4 separate regions of the Homo sapiens genome follow, and all the other regions are linked to region 1. Evidence: promoter capture Hi-C in 16 types of primary human blood cells and fetal thymus (Javierre and others, 2016). All regions are on one chromosome and are shown on one strand. Each heading gives the region's core, a stretch centred on a gene start or on the middle of the fragment in contact. The rest is flanking DNA. Distances are from core to core; before and after follow the strand shown. Region 1 holds the start of SPP2 (secreted phosphoprotein 2). Region 2 has its middle 14 kb from the start of ARL4C. Region 3 has its middle 48 kb from the start of ARL4C. Region 4 has its middle 64 kb from the start of ARL4C.

The links. The method cuts DNA at HindIII sites, captures the fragments that hold promoters and counts their contacts. A CHiCAGO score of 5 or more calls a contact.
Region 2: a fragment that was not itself captured here is called in contact with the fragment with the promoter of SPP2 in region 1 in 9 of 17 cell types (total CD4 T cells, non-activated CD4 T cells, total CD8 T cells and 6 more); the score reaches 15.0 in total CD4 T cells.
Region 3: a contact is called between a fragment that was not itself captured here and the fragment with the promoter of SPP2 in region 1, in 6 of 17 cell types (non-activated CD4 T cells, total CD8 T cells, naive CD4 T cells and 3 more). The highest score is 11.0, in non-activated CD4 T cells.
Region 4: a contact is called between a fragment that was not itself captured here and the fragment with the promoter of SPP2 in region 1, in 1 of 17 cell types (total CD4 T cells). The highest score is 5.2, in total CD4 T cells.

The regions. Positions count from the first base shown.
Region 1 is chr2:234,049,386-234,052,085 of GRCh38, reverse strand. SPP2 (secreted phosphoprotein 2) reads right to left here and starts at 1,384. Exons shown (of 8, transcript NM_006944.3): 1 at 1,215-1,384; 2 at 991-1,115. The coding sequence starts at 1,299. The HindIII fragment of the contact is 10,293 bases long and covers 1-2,700 here.
Region 2 is chr2:234,509,563-234,512,262 of GRCh38, reverse strand. No RefSeq gene overlaps it. Among named protein-coding and RNA genes, the nearest start is that of ARL4C, 14 kb to the right of the region's middle. The HindIII fragment of the contact is 3,740 bases long and covers 1-2,700 here.
Region 3 is chr2:234,543,817-234,546,516 of GRCh38, reverse strand. No RefSeq gene overlaps it. Among named protein-coding and RNA genes, the nearest start is that of ARL4C, 48 kb to the right of the region's middle. The HindIII fragment of the contact is 7,918 bases long and covers 1-2,700 here.
Region 4 is chr2:234,560,148-234,562,847 of GRCh38, reverse strand. No RefSeq gene overlaps it. Among named protein-coding and RNA genes, the nearest start is that of ARL4C, 64 kb to the right of the region's middle. RefSeq lists an enhancer at 1-115. The HindIII fragment of the contact is 6,746 bases long and covers 1-2,700 here.

The DNA.
Region 1 (2,700 bases), core at 135-2,634:
TGATTCATTTCCCTTGAAATTTGGAAAAGAGAAACTAGGAGCCAGGTTCTGAGGAAGATCAAGCTGAATATGTTGTATTTGGAGACTAGAACTAGGAAATCATGAGCCATGTGCTCTACAGAGTAGCAGAGGGAACAAGCTAAGAGTCAGTCCAGGAGGGATGGGAGAAGGCAGCAGGCAGACAGAGAGAAAGCAATGTCCATCTGGCCTCTGCTGCCTGGACCTTCAGCCGTGTCTTCATTCTCATTCCCATGCTGCCTGGCTATACAGAGCCTTCATTCCTAAGATGTGCAACTTTATAGAACCTCTCTACCTCCCACCTTAACCTAAATTTGCTTGAAAATATGTTCATCCCTACCTCCAAATGAGCCCCATGCAGATGATAATAAGGCAGTGAAATTACCTGGGGAACAGGAAGAAGGGAGATGACTTGCTGCTTATGTTTCTCATTTCCTTTGAAGGATATTTTTACATTTCTTTCCTTGCATATCACAGACTTAGTCATTGGAAGCCCAAGTGATTACTCTTTCTTTAGCTCCCAAAGCTAAGAGGAAACAGACTATTACCAAATTGACAAGGAAAGGTGAATTTCTTTGACTCAAAAGCCAGATTATTTCCAGTAAGTATTAGGAGCAGAACTGCTGAATTTGAAAGGAGGCTCATTTCCAATAAATGAGAAGTTCGTAATAAAACACCTCAGAAAGAATCGCGAGGACTTCAAGTACAAAAGCAGGCTGCAGGGAACCAGAAGACAAGGTTAGAGAGGAGAATACAGCAGAAGAATCAGTCATCAAAAGTGGTTTGGATAGCCTCATGACAAAAAATTGTAATTAAATCTTTCTCTGTCAAAGAAAAGAGACAGTATGAAAGAGATGACTAGCTACTATCATTTTTAAACTGGAGAAAATTTCTTAAAAGTATATCCAATGAACTGACAAAAGGCAGACAGCATTGGAAGGAGGAGTAGAGAAGATTTCATTTTGCACTTACTCTTTTTAATGAGCTTCTGAATGCCCGAAACAGATACGGACTCAGTGACTGGGAATTCACTTTTACCACAGAGGCACTGAGGGCATCCCTTAAGGAGGATGGATCGTAGTCGTACACTGGGAAACCTGGACACGCAAGCACATGGGGCACAGTGAGACAAGACACAGGCGCCAGCATGGCTCTGCATGATCCAGAGCAGGTGGCCAGGTTGGTGAATACCTTACCTGAGCAAGACCAGTAGTTCATTCCAAGAGCAAACATAATCAATATCTTCATCATCATCGTCATCTTCTCCATTCTGGAAATCATGATTGTAATCGAGAGACAGAGAGTGTCTCTCTATGTGTTTGGGGATGACAGTTCTTCCTAAGAGGAGCTGTCTTTATCAAACACTGGCTGCTTATTTTGACTGCAGCAATCTGTAACTTAAACAGAAACAATTGATCCTGGGGTCAATATTTTCTGCTGACTTTTCCTATGGAAAGGTTCCAGTTTGAGGACACTTTTGAAGTTTACAACTCACAAGAGAACTTTAGCCCAAGGCAAAAGGCATCAAGAGGCTCAGGATTCCACGTGTGCTGTTTATTTTTCTCTATTTTAATTTCATTCTTTGGAGGGGATATAATCTTACATTCAACAAAATGGTTAATCTTAAATTGTTGTGTATTGAGATCCCCTCATGGTTCTAAAGATCTTGCAGTTGACTACTTATGAAAATAGTGTGGGTATAAGATCTTCTTGGAAATTATGACTTTGGAGAAGATAATTTTATATAGGGGTCCTAAATATTCGAAGCAAGTACAAGTGCAGTAAAAAGCTGGGACACACCATCCTATTAACCAATCTTCTGTGCTACTGGACACTTTTGCACATCACCTGGATAATAAGGTATTTACATATTGATGATTCCCATGCACTGTAAGATCCCAAGGTAGTTTTTGAATGATTAAAAAGGAGAACTACTTAATTGGAAGTACAGTTTGTGTTGTATGTAGGTCATTGTGTTCTTATTTGTGGATTTCACGCATAAGAAGCTGTGTTTTGTCTCAGAAAGACCTGGACTGAGATCTTGGCTCTACCATGTACCAGGAGTATCCCCTTGGGCATGGCACTCAACACCTCTGAACCTCAATTTTCTCATCTATAAAATAGGCATAAATGGTTAGAGGTCAGGTGTGTTCTTAGTCAGGGTTCTCCAGAAAGGAGAACCAAAATATAGAGGGAAAGAAAAAGAGAGATTTTTTAAATATATACTTTAAGTTCTGGGGCACATGTGCAGAACCTTCAGGTTTGTTACATAGGTATACATGTGCCATGGTTGTTTGCTGCACCCATCAACCCATCATCTACATTAGGTATTTCTCCTAATACTATCCCTCCCCCAGCCCCCCACCCCCCAACAGGCCCCGGTGTGTGATGTTCCTCTCCCTGTGTCCATTTGTTCTCATTGTTCAACTCCCACTTATGAGTGAGAACATGTGGTGTTTGGTTTTCTGTTCTTGTGTTAGTTTGCTGAGATTGATGGTTTCCAGCTTCATCCACGTCCCTACAAAGGACATGAACTCATCCCTTTTTATGGCTGCTTAGTATTCCATGGTGTATATGTGCCACATTTTCTTTATCCAGTCTATCATTGACAGGTATTTGGGTTGGTTCCAAGTCTTTGCTATTGTGAACAGTGCCACAATAAACATACCTGTGCATGTGTCT
Region 2 (2,700 bases), core at 47-2,546, 460 kb before region 1:
GGTTCCATCTTTGTCCCCTACCTAGGTTTTATATTTTGGAAATATTCTTCTCTACCATCATTTAGGCAACTTGGAGTTGATTTTGTGCATTACCATAAACTGTGATGTTCTAGTTAACAACTAACTTCCAATTTTGTAATGTTCACATTCAAATTACATTACAATTAGTCATTCTATAGCACCCTTAAATTGAAGTTATTATTATAGGTATTGTGGGTTAAAGTTATTATTAACTTTATTATTTATTGAAGTTATTATTACAGGTATTGTAGGTAGAAAGTGGGGACTTCTGATGGGCCAGGATTTTCTCCAAACTCCCCTTACCACACCCACCTTAAAGGCCAAGGTCCCATAGTGTCCAGCCATACCTGGCTGAATCCTTCACCTCAGCCAGACATCCTTGATGCTGTCTGGGGGGAGAGGACATGGAAAGTTACTGAGTGGTCTCCTTGGCCCAAGAGGCAGCAGGGCTCCCACCACCTATGGGCCCAGATGAGACCATCAAGCTCATTCCCAACCAAATGCAGAGAAATGGGCTTATTCTCTCCTAAAGCTGGAGGCTGTGTCCTTAGATATTCTATCAAAAGGCGTGTGGCAGGGCTTCACCAGCCTCCCACTTCTCTGCTGGGTTCTGGCTGTGAGAATGAGTCAATGGTAGTGAAGGAGGTAAGAAGAGGAATGGGGGAGGAAGAGTGACTCAGTAGGGGCAATGGTGAGATTAGTTGGAATGGTCTAGGGGTGTCCATGGGACAACCCAGTGGAAACTGAACAGGGATTTGGACATAGTTCAAGGCACAGTAGAAGCAAATATCTGGGAAGAAGAATCCACTGGAAACTCAACAACAACACCAAAAACAACCAAGTTTAAAAAGGGACAAGGGACTTGAATAGAGATTTCTCCAAAGAAAACATCCAAATGGCCAATGAGTGCATGAAGAGATGTTCAACATCACTGACCACTAGTGAAATGCAAATCAAAACCACAACGAGACACCATCTCACACTCATCAGGATGGCTAGAATTAAAAAAAAAAAAAAAAAAAGGACAGGCCAGGTGTGGTGGCTCATGCCTGTAACCCCAGCACTTTGGGAGGCCGAGATTGGTGGATCACAAGGTCAGGAGATTGAGACCATCCTGGCTAACACAGTGAAACCCCGTCTCTACTAAAAATACAAAAAATTAGCCGGGCATGGTAGCGGGTGCCTGTAGTCCCAGCTACTCAGGAGGCTGAGGCAGGAGAATGATGTGAACCCGGGAGGCAGAGCTTGCAGTGAGCCAAGATTGCGCCACTGCACTCCAGCCTGGGTGACAGTGAGACTCCGTCTCAAAAAAAAAAAAAAAAAAAGAACATAACAAATACTGGTGATCATGCAGAGAAATTGGAAATTTGTGCACTTCTGGTGGGATTGTAATGGTGCAGCTGGTATGGAAAACAGCATGGCAGTTCCTACAAAACTTAAACACAAAAATACAACATGACTGAGCAATCTCATTTCCAGATATATACCCAAAAGAATTGGAAGCAGGGTTTTGAAGGGATATCTGTACACTCATGTTCATAGCAACATTATTCACAATTGCCAAAAGGTGAAAGCAACTCAAGTATCTGTTGACAGATGAATGAGTAAACAAAATGTGGCACATATGTAAAACGGGAAATTATTTAGCTTTAAAAAGGGAAGATATTCTGACACATGCTACAACATGGATGAGATTTGAGGACATTATGCGAAGTGGAATAAGCCAGTCGAAAAAAGACAAACACTGTATGATTCCATTTATATGAGGTACTTAGTGTAGTCAAAATCATAAAGACAGAAAGTAGAATGGTGATTTCCAGGGGCTGAGAGGAGGGGGAAATAATGAAACATTATTATTAATGGGTAGTTTCAGTTTTACAAGATGAAAAGAGTTATGAGGGTGAATGGTGGTGATGTTTGCTCAATATTCTGAATATATTTAATACCACTGAACTGTACATTTAAAACTGGTTAAGATGGTAAATTTTATGTTATGTGTATTTTCTCACAACAAAAACCTCCTCCTTGTGGAGGAGGAGAAGAATTCACTGGAGCAAAAAAACTGTCCCTTGAAGGCAGGTGTGGTGTGGAACAAGAGCCAAGCAGAGGGCTCAGAAAACACTCACAGTTCAGGGTTAAATGGAAGAAAAGGACTTTGTGAGAGAACCTCAAAATATACAAGAGAGCTAGGAGCAAGGACTACAATGAAAGCCAAAGAAAGGCAAGTCAGAGAGAGTTTTGTGAAAAAAGAATGTGGTTAACAGCACCAGATGCAACTGAGGCAATAAGTATGATTAGGACTAAAATAGGTCCAGTTTGTGCAGCAATTAGGAGGTGACCTTTGCCAGCACAGGTTCAGAGAGTGGGGAAGGGCATGACAGATATGAGCAGACAGAAAGTTGCATTGTGAGAGAAGCAGAGACCCTCTGAGAAGGGAAGGAGTAAAACTGTAGGACAATAGCTAGAGGGCCACACAAATCTAAAAGAGACAGCGAAAGAGAGAGGGAGACAGAGAGAGACAGGGAGAGAGAGATGAGGAGAGAGAGAGTTGAGACAGCTGAGACTTGAATAGGGGCTATATTTTAAGAGGATTTATAAATCTTTGTGCTTTTGTGGCCAAGAGCATCCCCTACACACAGTGGAAGCTCAATCAACATCTGGTAAATAGACAACAAAGAA
Region 3 (2,700 bases), core at 75-2,574, 490 kb before region 1:
TCTCACACACACACACACACACACACACACACGATGCAAGATCACTAATATGATATAACTGACTAATAATGAGGATTTTTTTACAGCCTGTAATGAAATAATATCACGGTACAGACTCGTTATAATTCTTCCTCCTCCTTGCATCTCACTTATTTAACTAGAATTGAAGTAGGGAGAAAAAGAAACCTTCCATTCATCCTGTGGAGAACAGCTAATAATTGGGAAAAGCTGCCTGAATATTATACAGGTAGATGTGAGTCCGCCACTATGTTTTTATCCTCAGGGATCCAAGAATTTTAGGTTTGTATGTGAGGAGGGAGGGATGGAAGTGAGAAGGGTCTTTTAAAACTAAATGAAACCATGAGGAGATACCATCTCTTCTGGATTAAAAAACTTATTTTTTTTTTTTCATCCAGGCACGGTGGCTCACACCTGTAATCCTAGCACTTTGGGAGGCCGAGGTGGGTGGATCATTTGAGGTCAGGAGTTCGAGACCAGCCTGGCCAACATGATAAAACCCCATCTCTACTAAAAATACAAAATAAGCCGGGTGTGGTGGCAGGTACCTGTAGTCCCAGCTACTCAGGAGGCTGAGGCAGGAGAATCACTTGAACCCGGGGGGTGGAGGTTGCAGTGAGCTGAAATCGTGCCACTGCACGCCAGCCTGGGCGACAGAGTGAGACTCTGTGTGACATTTGAATGCCTCAAATGTCAAAAAAGAAAAGTTATTTTTTTCAACTTGCCTTTTTGGGGGATTCATGAGAGTCTAAGTTAGGGCTTCCCTAAAGAAAACTGGGAGAGAGCTGCAGAAATACAATATAGAGAAGTCAGAAAATACAGACACTCAAAAAATAACCCCAAAGTACTTCAATGTTATGACTTAAAACAGAGCTCACCATCCCCCTTCAGAATGTTTTCCTTCACTTGCAAGAGCACAGACACCTTTTGTTTGTTAGAGATCACCAGGAAAGCTCATTCTATACCCAGTCTTCCGGCCTCCCGGGAAACTGACCGTCTTCCGTGTCGGTAAATCCGGATCTATTCAGATGAGCTTTTTACGGTGCAATTTCTGATTCTAGTCATAATTACCACACAGCTCCTCCTGGGTGTGTGTAATCCTGTGCCATATAAAACCTGAGAGCACTGTAGTTCTCAATCCAAAATCAATCCATTTAGCTTTCAAACACCCTACAAGCTCATTTATTTTCTCAAATTGGTTTTTGCTTAACCAAGTGTTAAAATGAGTTTAGAACCCGCGGGCGCGCACGGGTGGGACAGGTAAGCAGCCCTACTGGGCGGTGCTGCACGCAGGGGCAAAGCAGCCCCAGGTGAACCCTGACATCCGCCCCAGGGACATCCCGGCCCGGCTCTGGTTCTCGCTCTGCGTTTCTTCTCTTCACCACCAGGGGGCAGGCTCCTAGCGGGATGAAAACCCTGCGCTGCCTGATGCTGCATGGGTTTGCTGGGTGGGTCCCGCTTCCACACTGGGGATCCTTGAGAAAGAGACGGTCTTTGATGACTTTGGCTACTGATTCAGCATTCCAGACCAAAAAAGCCGTATCTAGAGAGCCAAATTCTACTGAACAGCTAGGAAGTGTGGAGGTAGTCCTTCCTTCCTCTCTCCCTCCCTCCCTCCCTCCTTCCCTCCCTCCTTTCCTTTCCTTTCCTTCCTTGCTTCCTTCCTTCCCTCCTTCCTTCCTTGCTCCCTTCCTTCCTTCCTTCCTCCCTCCCTCTCTCCTTCCTTCCCTCCCTTCCTTGCTTCCTTCCTTCCTTCCTCCCTCTCTCCCTCTCTCCTTCCCTTCCCTTCCTTCCTTCCTTCCTTCCTTCCTTCCTTCCTTCCTTCCTCCCTCTCTCCCTCTCTCCTTCCCTTCCTTCCTTCCTTCCTTCCTTCCTTCCTTCCTTCCTTCCTTCCTTCCCTCATTCATTCACTTCTGGCTAGCTCCACAAATGTGTTGATGGCCCCACACCTTGCTAGACACTGGGCACCACCATAAGTAAGGCATTTACCTCGATCTCCAGGAGCTCCCTGCGAGGGTGTGGCTGCCCTCTTGCCGTGATCACGTGAGGTCCATCTCATTGGAGTTTTAAAAAGTAGGTTAGCACCTTCCAGGAAGGTGAGGGTGAGCAAACAGAGGAAAGGGGCTTCCATTACGTTTCAAGCAAATTCCTCGTGCTTTCCGGGCACTCTCTGGTCTGCACCCCGCTGCTGTTCCTGAACCCTGCGGGCCCATCCTTCCCTGCCTTCCTGCGTGCCATGCCCTCTGCCCCAGACACACCTCCCTGACTCCTCACATTCCTGCTCCTTCCACCCTCTCCAAGGTCATCCTCCTGGCCCTCTGTGGCTGACCCTGGTCAGCACAGCTTGATGACTTAGTCCAAGCTGCAAGAATAGACTCTTCTGCAGGCCTCCTTTGTCTGTCATCCATCACCCTCACAAGAACAGAAACCTCACAGGTGCGCAGTCTCTGCTCACCAATGGGCCTACAGCATCGAGAACGCTCCCTGGCACACAGTGCTCAGCAAATGCCTGTTGAATAAGATTGTCATCTGTGTCTGAGGACTGGTGAATAAATAGAGGCAAGGAGGTAAGGAACAGCCTAAAAGGCATGAAGATGTAGGGTGGATGATCCATGGGGACCAGGTCGGGAGAGAGATGCAGGTGAAGGAGAGACCCCAGAGAGAGCCCTACCTAGTGAGAGG
Region 4 (2,700 bases), core at 79-2,578, 510 kb before region 1:
CAGAGACGCTCCTCACATCCCAGACAGGGCGGCGGGGCAGAGGTGCTCCCCACCTCTCAGACGATGGGCGGCCGGGCAGAGACGCTCCTCACTTCCTAGATGGGATGGCGGCGGGGAAGAGGCGCTCCTCGCTTCCTAGATGGGATGGCGGCCGGGCAGAGACGCTCCTCACTTTCCAGACTGGGCAGCCAGGCAGAGGGGCTCCTCATATCCCAGACGATGGGCGGCCAGGCAGAGACGCTCCTCACTTCCCAGACGGGGTGGCGGACCGGCAGAGGCTGCAATCTCGGCTCTTTGGGAGGCCAAGGCAGGCGGCTGGGAGGTGGAGGTTGTAGCGAGCCGAGATCACGCCACTGCACTCCAGCCTGGGCGCCATTGAGCACTGAGTGAACGAGACTCCGTCTGCAATCCCGGCACCTCGGGAGGCCGAGGCTGGTGCATCACTCGCGGTTAGGAGCTGGAGACCAGCCCGGCCAACACAGCGAAACCCCGTCTCCACCAAAAAAATACGAAAACCAGTCAGGCGTGGCGGCGCGCGCCTGCAATCGCAGGCACTCGGCAGGCTGAGGCAGGAGAATCAGGCAGGGAGGTTGCAGTGAGCCGAGATCGCAGCAGTACAGTCCAGCTTCGGCTCGGCATCAGGGGGAGACCATGGAAGGAGACCGTGGAGAGGGGAGAGGGGAGAGGGGAGAGGGGAGAGGGGAGAGGGGAGAGGGGCCACCGTAACTCTTAAAAGACGTTTGAGTTGAGCAGAGAATATTGCATTGTTAGATGTTTTCCCTCAACATTTTGCTCCATTGTTTTCTGGCCTCTTTTTTGCTGATGAAGATGCTCTCGAACAGATAGCCATTCCCTAGGCTAAAATGTGTTTTCTTTCTGGTAGTTTGAAATTGTATTTATCATCTCTGATCTGTAGTTTCACTCTGATACATCTAAATATGGAATTTTGTTTGTGTGTTTATCTTACTTGGCCCTCGACTTGTTCTTTTAGTCTGAGGAGCTCTTATTTTCCTTCCCTTCTGGAAATAATTAGCCATGACCCTACTGATTCTATTCTGTTTCATATGTACGGAGCTTTTCAGTATCTTCTCCACATCGCTTTACTTCTCTTTCATATTTCTCTCTCTCTTTATCTCTCTGTGCTGCATTTTGATTGATTTCTGCAATTCTGTCTTACAAAGTCGCTCATCAACTTTTTTCCAGCTTATTGTTTACCTCATTGCGGCGGGCTTTGATTTCAAAACTACCTTTTTTTTCCAGATTTTGAAATTGATCTTTATTGATCATTGATCAATGGATCCATATTGATCTTGATTCCTGAGTGCTATGTTTTTGTTTCATAACTCCCTGTTCTTATTTACAGTTGCTGTCACTTTTTTTAAAACTTTCTGAGGATTTTAAACACACACTATTAAAGTCCTTTTCAGTTTTCACTATTTTTCTATTTTTTTCCAGGTGTGTATTCTCCAATTTGTTAACTTCGTGTCTTTCTTCTGGGGCATCTGATTTTGGGAGATTCTTTATAACGCTCATTTATGGGCTCGTTTGGCATAGGAGCCGTATTTTCTCTCCTGCAGGCATCACCTTTTCCTGTTTGATAATTTCAGGTATCCTCAGTCAGATCTCCAAGAGACCAAGACTCAGAGGAAGAGCGTTATTAGCAGTTCAGGGTTCTCACCCCAAGAGTTCATGGCAGCTTCGATCCTGGAACTGGTAAGCAGTTCCAAATGCCAAGATCCCGATCCGCTGTTGTTTGTCTGCCTTTTCCTTCATCACAGACCCGCAGCTACATTCTGGCTGCCATCCCAGGGGGGCAGAGAATTTGAGTTTCTTTCACGAGTGAGAGAATATAACCATAGCCCTTGGTCTCATGAAGGGTGTCCAACCTTGCCCTGCAGCCTCCCTGGGGCCATTGGATCCCACCCGGTCAGAGCTGAAGTAACGGCCCCTGCATCTGCCCTTCCGGGCTCCCGTTGTGGGAGAGCTCCAGTCTCGGCCCTCCTCTCTGTGCTTCTATCCACTTAACGATTTACAGGTTTGTTTAACTCTGACTCCCCCATGTTGACTGGAATTTGGAGGTCTCTTTCCTTCCTCTCTCTCCCACCAGTGCCCCCTAAAGTCCTCTGGAGGCTCCTCTTCCTCGGACTTCTTGCCCACCGCCCTGGGCAATCTCACCGTTACCCCTGGCGTTGCTGTTCTCCCGTGTCCTATGACTCTCAACAGTCCAAGCTGTTCTGAGCTGCAGACACCATGCCATTGTCCAAGGGATGCCCCTAGGTGCCTCCCAGTGTACACACCCCAAACCCAGGCCCTTCATCGCTTCCCCATACAAGTGATGAAGGGCCTGGGTTTGGGGTGTATACATTGGGAAGCACGCAGGGACATCCCTCCAGTGCTTCCTCTTCCTCACTAAGCTCTGCATTTCACACTTCAGTGGATGTCCAGTATCCACAGCAGAAATGGGTCCCTCTGCCTTCTCATGTGATCAGCGGCCAATGTTTTCAGCTCTCCTAGAACTCGACTGGCTCCCTTCTCTCTCTCCACCATCACTGACTTAGTTCAGGCCCATGAATACCTCTTTCCCTGGACAACTGCAGCAGTCTTGGTCTAACCCTTGTGATCAAGGGTTAGACTATGCAGTCACTCGTTCACTCACTGCTGTTCATCCCCTTCTCCCATTCTGCAAACTGCTGCCACTCT